Regions from separate parts of the Homo sapiens genome. Here region 1 is linked to region 2. Evidence: promoter capture Hi-C in human tissues and cell types (Jung and others, 2019). All regions are on one chromosome and are shown on one strand. Each heading gives the region's core, a stretch centred on a gene start or on the middle of the fragment in contact. The rest is flanking DNA. Distances are from core to core; before and after follow the strand shown. Region 1 holds the start of ZNF260 (zinc finger protein 260). Region 2 holds the start of ZNF607 (zinc finger protein 607).

Region 1 (3,852 bases), core at 279-2,778, 1.2 Mb after region 2:
AAAAATTACCCGGGCGTGGTGGCCGGCACCTGTAATCCTAGCTACTCGGTAGGCTGAGGAAGGAGAATCGCTTGAACCTGGGAGGCGGAGGTTGCAGTGAGCCGAGATCGCGCCACTGCACACCAGCCCGGGCGACAGTGCGAGACTCCATCTCAAAAAAAAAAAAAATCAGGTCCTGGAAAAATAAAGCATTTCAGGAACAAAGAGAAAACTTCAAGGCACCTTAAACATGGCTTTTAGATATCACAACCGTTATTTCCTCTCCTCTGGGGAACCTCTCTTGGAGGACAGAAATGAGAAGGGAGACAATACACCTCCCCTAGGGCCCAAATGACAAGGCCAGAGCTTACTCTGCGTTCCCCTCCCCCGCCATGGGAGGGCTATCAGAGGAAACTGGGGCTTCCAACTCAAAACTCAGTGTCATAGAAAAATCCCCTTTACTATCACGGGGCCGAGCTGTCTTCTGCTCTCACATATGACTATGTGTGACATTTGGTCAAAGACACACAAACACAGTCTCAACTCCACGCACACCCAATGCTTCACAGTCACACACCCACCACTGTACACAAAGTCACAAGCACCCACCCTCCATACTCCCACACAAGGACACAGAGTCACAACTACATAAGTACAAAGCTCCCTATATCTGCACACAAACGAACATATGGTCACAGAGTTACAATCACACACCCACCGCGGGCACACAGTCACAGCTAACCCACACCCTCACACAGCGTTACACAGTCACACAATAACAGTCCTAACACAGGGACTCACGGGACACCCGCAGAGTCCTCCCCACATCCGTACACAAGGTGTCACACACAATCACAATCACACACACACTGTGCTAGGACATACATTCACAAAAACACAATTTCACAACCGCCCTTCTCGGCGCGTTCCGCCTGAACAGACTTAATACTCAGTCTCAACCTCCGCACCGGATTCCAGACGCTTCACCTCCAACCTCCTCCTGATCCTGTAGTCTCCGAGCCGACCCGCTCAGAGGCCAGCACCTGGGTCGCGTGCAGCTCTCCCCCGAGCCGCGGGAGTCGCGAGGGGAGGGGCCGAGGGCGCGGCGCCTTCTGGGAAATGTAGTTCAGCGCCACGCCCGCGATGAGCAAGATGGCGCCCGGCTTGAGCCCAGCCAAAGGGATTACCCTCATTCCCGAACCGTGTCTGAGAGTCTCCTGGGGTTCCTGGCTTAGTATCGCACCGTGGCTGTTACATAAAGTCAGCACAGCGTGTTTAAGCTGATGTTACACCACTACCCAATCCCAGGGATAGAGTAAACTAAGACTAAGGCCTTACACCCCTGCCCCGGCCAGGGAGACAGTCCCACAAGCTCTGGCGGAGGAAAAGTTCGCGCGAAAAGCTGACTCAAACCGCTGAACCTTCTGGGAAATGTAGTCTACCCTCAAAAGAGTGGCACGGAGGACGGGCCAAGATCTCTCGATTCCGTCCGGTTCTGAGTCGGGGCCTGGCCCAGCCCAGGAGACCTCTGGGAGCGCTGCCCGCGGAAGGAGTGCGCAGGCGCGGAATCTCCGACTTGCCATGGTCGTCTTTGTCTGCCGGTGAGTTGGGTTTCGGCCCTGTGGGACTTGGGTTTCTGGACACTGAAACGGGCCAGGGACGCTGGAGGGGAGGATTTGCAGTGCCTGCGACGGGGCTGGGAGTATGGAGGGGAGGAATCGCCTTCTATGATGTGCGGTGATCCGAGCTTGTGTGGCTGGGGGCAGGGGTACAGTTCGGGTGGGTTCGCGGGTGGGTGACCGAGAGTGTGAGGGGGTGTTGAGGGTGCAGAGTTAGTGAGAAACTGGTTCCAAGTTTGTGAGGATGGACGGATGGCTTTGTGAGGTAGTAACCTCTAAGCCTCACTTTTCTCATTTCTAAAATAATAAAGATGCGTTTTCTGGAAAATAGGAAACGGAAAAGGCTAAGGAATTGAGCGGATAAGTAATTTTAAAGGTGATTTTTTATATAAAAGCAGACCTATTGTGGAGTAGAAAACAAAATCAGCATTACCTTTCCATTATTTTTTTAAAGAGGCAAGATTTCGGAAAAACTTGTTACTGGGTGCCTGTACACCCAGTAGGCATTGACTTTTCTTAATACTTTGGAGAAACTTTGGTGCAGTTGCTTGGAGAAACCCTGAACTAAGGAATATCTTTAAGAGGTAGTTTCCAATAGCGCAGACGGCACAGAATTTGGAAGCTACTTGTCCTGCCTTTAGCGCAGAGGTCAAGAAACTCCCTAGTTCGTCAGTGAGGGCAGCAATCTCACTCCTAATTTAATCAGGGTTTCCCCAGCCTTTTGTAAATATAGGGGAAATTCTTTTCTTGTGTATACAAAGATAGAAGTATCCTATCTTCAAGTATCTTGTCACACTTATTCTTAACATATCAACATATTCAAGTATCTTGTCACACTTATTCTTAACATATTTTTCAATAAAATAAAAAAGTAACAGGGTTAATAGTTTTGAAATATACAGAAAAAGTAAAAGATACAAAGAAGACAGGACTTAGTTTCTGCTTTTCCCCTAACTATTGGTGTTTCTAAGTTTCTGGCCTTGATCATCTAAGTACTCCTATCAGCAACAACATTACACTGCCATCCATGGCTTCATCTAATACAGATGACTAATAAATGTCTGTTTCTGCTGGAGGCTTGTCCTGAGCTCCTAATCCATATTATCTAATTGCCCAATGTGCAGTCCACCTGGAAGTTACAGGGAACTTCAAGCTCTTTATGTCTAAAGGGCTCCTTCTTCCTGCAGTCTGCCTCCATCTATTTCCCCTCTGTACCTGTTTCAGCAATTTATAGCACTGTCTAGCCAGGTTCTAAGGCACTTACATCTTAGAGAAGGCTTCTAAGTAAGTTTGATCCTTTGATTTGTTATATCCCATTACAAATTGTAAACCAAGGTTTCTCAGCACACATAATCATAAATGTATATGTTTGCTGAATCAGTGAATGAACAGTCAGCCCTCTGTGTCTGTAGGCTCTGCTTCCACGGATTCAACAAACATGAATCATAACTGTTGTTAAGCTTGCGATGGTTGTATCTGTACGTGTACAGATTTTTTTTTCTTGTCATGATTCCCTAAACAATACAGTATAACAACTATTTACCAGACATTTACGTTGTATTACGTATGATAAGTAATCTGGAGATAATTTTAAAGTATATGGGAGGATGTGCATAGGTTATATGTAAATATACTTCCATTCACTTTATTTTTATTTTTTTGAGATGGAGTCTCACTCTGTCACCCAGACTGGAGTGCAGTGGTGCAATCTCGGCTCACTGCCACCTCTGCCTCCTGGGTTCAAGCGATTCTCCTGCCTCAGCCTCCCAAGTAGCTGAGGTACAGGTGTGTGCCACCATGCCCAGCTAATTTTTTTATTTTTAGTAGAGACAGGGTTTCACCATCTTGGCCAGCCTGGTCTCGAACTCCTGACCTCAGGTGGTCAGCCTGCCTCAGCCTCCCAAAGTGCTGGGATTACAGGCGTGAGCCACCATGCCTGGCTTTATATTTGAAGTATAAGGGACTTGAGCATCTGCAGATTTTGGTATCCACAGTGATCCTGGAACCAATCTCCTGTGATATCAAGGGAAGATTATTATTATAGGACACTTACTATATTTAACTTCTCCTAGTTAATCTAAGTAAAATATTAGTCCTCTAAATTTTTTAGAGCTCTGACCTATAAATACCATCAGAATAATTTCCTGTATTTTTTTCCATATCACTCAAGGTTGGTTACTTCAGACTTATGAGAAAAGTGTTATGGGGAAAAATTATATGCAAAGATGTGACTTCACTCAGGAGCAAGGTCACA
Region 2 (4,133 bases), core at 922-3,421:
AGCAATCCTCCTGCCTCGACCTCCCAAAGTGCTGAGATTACAGGCATGAGCCACTGCTCCTGGCTGATTTGCATATTCTTAATGATTAATATAGAACATGTTTTCAAGTATTTAGTAGCCATGTGTATACTTTTTTTTTTTTTTTGAGAAATGCTTATTCAGTTACTTTGCCCATTTTTGTTGGGCTTTTTATTATTGAGTTGCAAGACTTCTTTATATATTCTAGATACAAATCCCTTATTGGATACATAATTTACAAACAATTTTTCTCACTCTTTGGGTAGCTTCTCACATTCTTGGTGGGTTTTGAAGCACAATGTTTTACAATTTATGTCCAATTTCCTTTTTTGATGTTGTTGCTTGTGATTCTGATGTCACGGTTAAGAAACAATTGCTGACTATAAAGTCCAGAAGATTTATGCCTACATTTCCTTCTAAATGTTCTACTGTTTTAAGTCTTACACCTAGGTGTTTGATCCATTTTGAGTTGATTTTGTATATGGTGAGAGGCAGGGAACTCAATTCATTCCTTTCTATGTGCATCTCTAATTCCAGTCTTTTCAACAAAGACTACTCTTCCCTTCCTTAAAATGCCTTGGTATCCTTGTTGAAAATAGTATGTGGAGCCGGGCGCAGTAGCTCATGCCTATAATCCCAGCACTTTGGGAGGCCAAGGCGGGCAGATCATCTGAGGTTGGGAGTTCGAGACCAGCCTGACCAACATGGTAAAACCCTGTCTCTACTAAAAATACAAAATTAGCTGGGCATGGTGATGCATGCCTGTAATTCCAGCTACTCAGGAGGCTGAGGCAGGAAAATCGCTTGAACCTGGGAGGTGGAGGTTGCAGTGAGCCAAGATCGTGCCATTGCACTCCAGCCTGGGCAACTAGAGCAAAACTCCGTCTCAAAAAGAGAAAAAAGAAAAAGAAAATAATATGTGGAGTCAATTTAATCCATTGATCTATGTGTGGTATTTCTGAGAGATTATTCAGGAGATTCAGGAGCAACAAATCCAAGAACTAATTAAGAGAAGAAAAAGTGATCAATAAGTTCTTAAATTGTAACTTTAATAGTTTTTTTTCCTTGACTATTTGTATTTTTGAATGGTGATTTTTTAGTTTTGTTCCTTTTCCTCTTAGGGTATAGACAAATATTTTTTATTTTTAAATTAATTTTACTTATTTATTTTTTGAGACAAGGTCTTGCTCTGTTGCTCAGGCCAGAGTGCGGTGACACCATCATACCTCACTGAAGCCTGAACTTCCGGGCTCAACTGATCCTCCTACCTTTGTCTTTGGAATAGCTGGGCCCACAGGCGTGTGCCACCACACCAGGCTAACTTTCATTTTTGGTAGAGTTTGGGAGGAGGAGAGGGGTGTCTCACTATGTTTCTTAGGCTGGTTTTGAACTTCTGGCCTCAACTGATCCTCCTGCCTTGGCCTCCGAAAATGCTGGGATTAAAGGCGTGAGCCACCGTGCCCAGCCTGTATTCATCAATATTTTATTAAGCCAAAGAAACAGGAAATTCGGACTATTAAATATTTGTCCGTTTTAGCTGTTGTAAATATTTCCCCCAAATTTACTTACCTAAAAATTTTTCTTATTCGTTTTTTACCATTTGGAAATTTTGGATGCTTCTAAATAACTATGAAGATTTACAAAGTATTACATGAAGGATCAAAAAAATTTTTTAAATTTCTTATTTTATCTTCAAGAAGCCTATTCCAGAACAAAAATAATAAAACTATTTAGCAGTTATTTCTTCAGATGATTTTTTAGTCAAATTTTTAGTCAAATATATTCGTGTCCAAAGATGAAGAACATAATGTCATGTATTGAAGAATGTGATGGAACTTCAAACCCTCATATAGGACGTGAGTCCATTTACTTAGCGCTTGACGAGACAAGCTGGGCCTGTCGGGTGGTATTAAAAGTCCCAGTCCCATGTGTTACCAAGGAGGCCGGCTCTACCTCAGGAGCCATGAGGGTTTCGGCGCCCCACCCTGAGGAGCTCACACCCATCCAGCAGGTGATCCCTTCCGAGGCTACCTGGATCAGTTTCTACTCAGACTCGCCTCCTACTGGCCCTAAGAACGCACTAACTCCACCCTAAGCCTCAGGCCAGGGGCCCAGTAGTGGCCGATCTGCGCATGCGCACTCGAGGCAAGGCGGCCACTCCCAGAAGTCTCCGGGGCTCGAGCGGTGGGTGGGAGGCGCGGTCCAAGTGGTCGCTGCCGTATTTCTCGTAGGTTTTTAGGATTCTGGACTCCATTTCTCACCGGTACCTGCGGTCCTGACTGTTCTGGCTTGGACTACATATTACAAAGGCAACGGAGAAAACTTGGACCCCTGGCTCCGGTTCCGGGACCTTTTGGTTCCACCTGAAGAAGGCGGCGCAGGTCACTGCGGGAGCCTCTGCAGCCCCAGCCCGCCGCCCGCGTGGTACCCTGCGTGGCGGTGAGAGTGGGGCTGCAGGAGGCGCTCAGAGCGCGGAGGCCCCCAGGCGGGCCGGGCGAGTCTCCCGCCTCCTCAGGCCCTAGGGTGCTGGAGCTGCGGAGGAGGGGCCCGTCTCTAGGAGACAGGCGGGGAGCGTGAGAGACCGCGCAGCGGCGACAGGACCGGCTTGCCTGTGTGACGTGGGTGCAGTTGCGGGACTGTGAGGGGTGCGTAGTCGACCTTGTGTGACCTGTACATGCCGTGTGTGTCCTTTGTAAAGCGTGCTTCGCTGGGCTCTGTGGGGTCTATTGACCCTTGGCTCCAGGTTCCCTGCTGCTTCCTGTGCCTTCCTCAGCCTAGTACGACTACAACAGAGAAATGGTCCCAATGGGAAATCAGATACTGAGTCTTAGATGAAGATTTCCAGTGAGAAGAAACAGATAGGATGAGAAGCTTAGAAGAGTAATTGCCCTTAAGAAAGGTATGATAGATTCTGTTAAATAAAAAAGTATTCAGTGACACTTGTTAAAGCATGCAAAGAACCCTTTATTCAGGACCATGGTGGTAGGTATTGGGATCCCGGCTGTGAGATTTTGCAGTGGGTAACAGACATTGGGCTCAACTCCGAATTCAGCATGAACAAGTGGGAATTTATAGCCAAGAAGGTTAGGGATCACTGGATGAGAAATTACTAAGAGGAAATGTCTGGGTTAAGGAAGATTCTGACTAAACGCACCTAACAGGATTATTTCTGGAGAGAGAGACCTGGGGGACGGTGGAGGATGAAGATACGGAGGCGAAAGGGTCTTGCTAAACTGACTTAGAATAGTTCTTTGCTATAGCCAGATTTTACAGTGAAGTGTACAGATGGGCCTAGCTGAAGGTGTAGTAGCCTGACTAAAATTTGGTCTGGCAGGGTTTGTCAGTTTCGAGTGTAGGATTCCCTCCTGAAAAGGGTTGTTACTCCGCCCCCACCTCCCGGTTCTTGGAGTTTCATTTACATGTTTAACAAACACGGCCTTGAATTCTGACCCCAAGAACCTGCAGTGAAGGATGATTGCAGGTTCCATCCAACATACTTCCTTCTGGTCGTGTGTATGAAATTACGCGCCTGCAGCCTTGGAGGGGGGAAACATAAGCGCTAAGTATTATGAGGCAATTTTGGATATTCCGTTTTGGATTTCTGTAGATCAAAAGCAACAAGAATATGAACTTAGCCGTGATGTGAAGGAAGTGAGCCAGAATTTAAGTTTTCCAAAATAGGAATTCTCGGTCATTGGTGTACTGTCTGTAGACCAATGCCCTTATGGGCATAAGGGACATCACAAACCCCCTGAAATTCTATAAAGAATTCCTGTACATGTTTGTTAATTTGCATTTTTCTAGGATGTCCATAATCCAAATTATTTAGACTCAGGTTTTAGATCTGGAATCAAAGAGTTTTATACCTTTGAATGGTTTTGCAGAAAACTAATGAACGAGATTATGGGAATGGTTAAGAAAATTATACAGCGTCCAAGGGATTGGATATTATACAAATAATAAGATTTATGTTTGTAAAGAATCTGTCACAGGATAAATAGCTGTGATCTAATGTTTAACACTATTTAGAGTTACAGTGGTGGATCACAGTTCTCAAACTATATATGCAACTCTTTTTCTTTCTTTTTTTTTTTTTTTTTTTTTTTTGAGACTGA

Evidence for each region. Contacts are between HindIII fragments. The study calls those that stand out against the background at their distance.
Region 1: a contact is called between the fragment with the promoter of ZNF260 here and the fragment with the promoter of ZNF607 in region 2, in 1 of the 25 tissues and cell types used here (dorsolateral prefrontal cortex).

Annotation. Positions count from the first base shown.
Region 1 is chr19:36,525,947-36,529,798 of GRCh38, reverse strand. ZNF260 (zinc finger protein 260) reads left to right here and starts at 1,528. Exons shown (of 3, transcript NM_001166037.2): 1 at 1,528-1,580. RefSeq lists enhancers at 801-1,000, 812-1,520, 1,151-1,780, 1,521-2,231. The HindIII fragment of the contact is 10,038 bases long and covers 1-3,852 here.
Region 2 is chr19:37,717,799-37,721,931 of GRCh38, reverse strand. It overlaps ZNF607 (zinc finger protein 607), which reads left to right and starts at 2,171. Exons shown (of 5, transcript NM_032689.5): 1 at 2,171-2,663. RefSeq lists silencers at 2,410-2,519, 2,580-2,669. The HindIII fragment of the contact is 7,560 bases long and covers 1-4,133 here.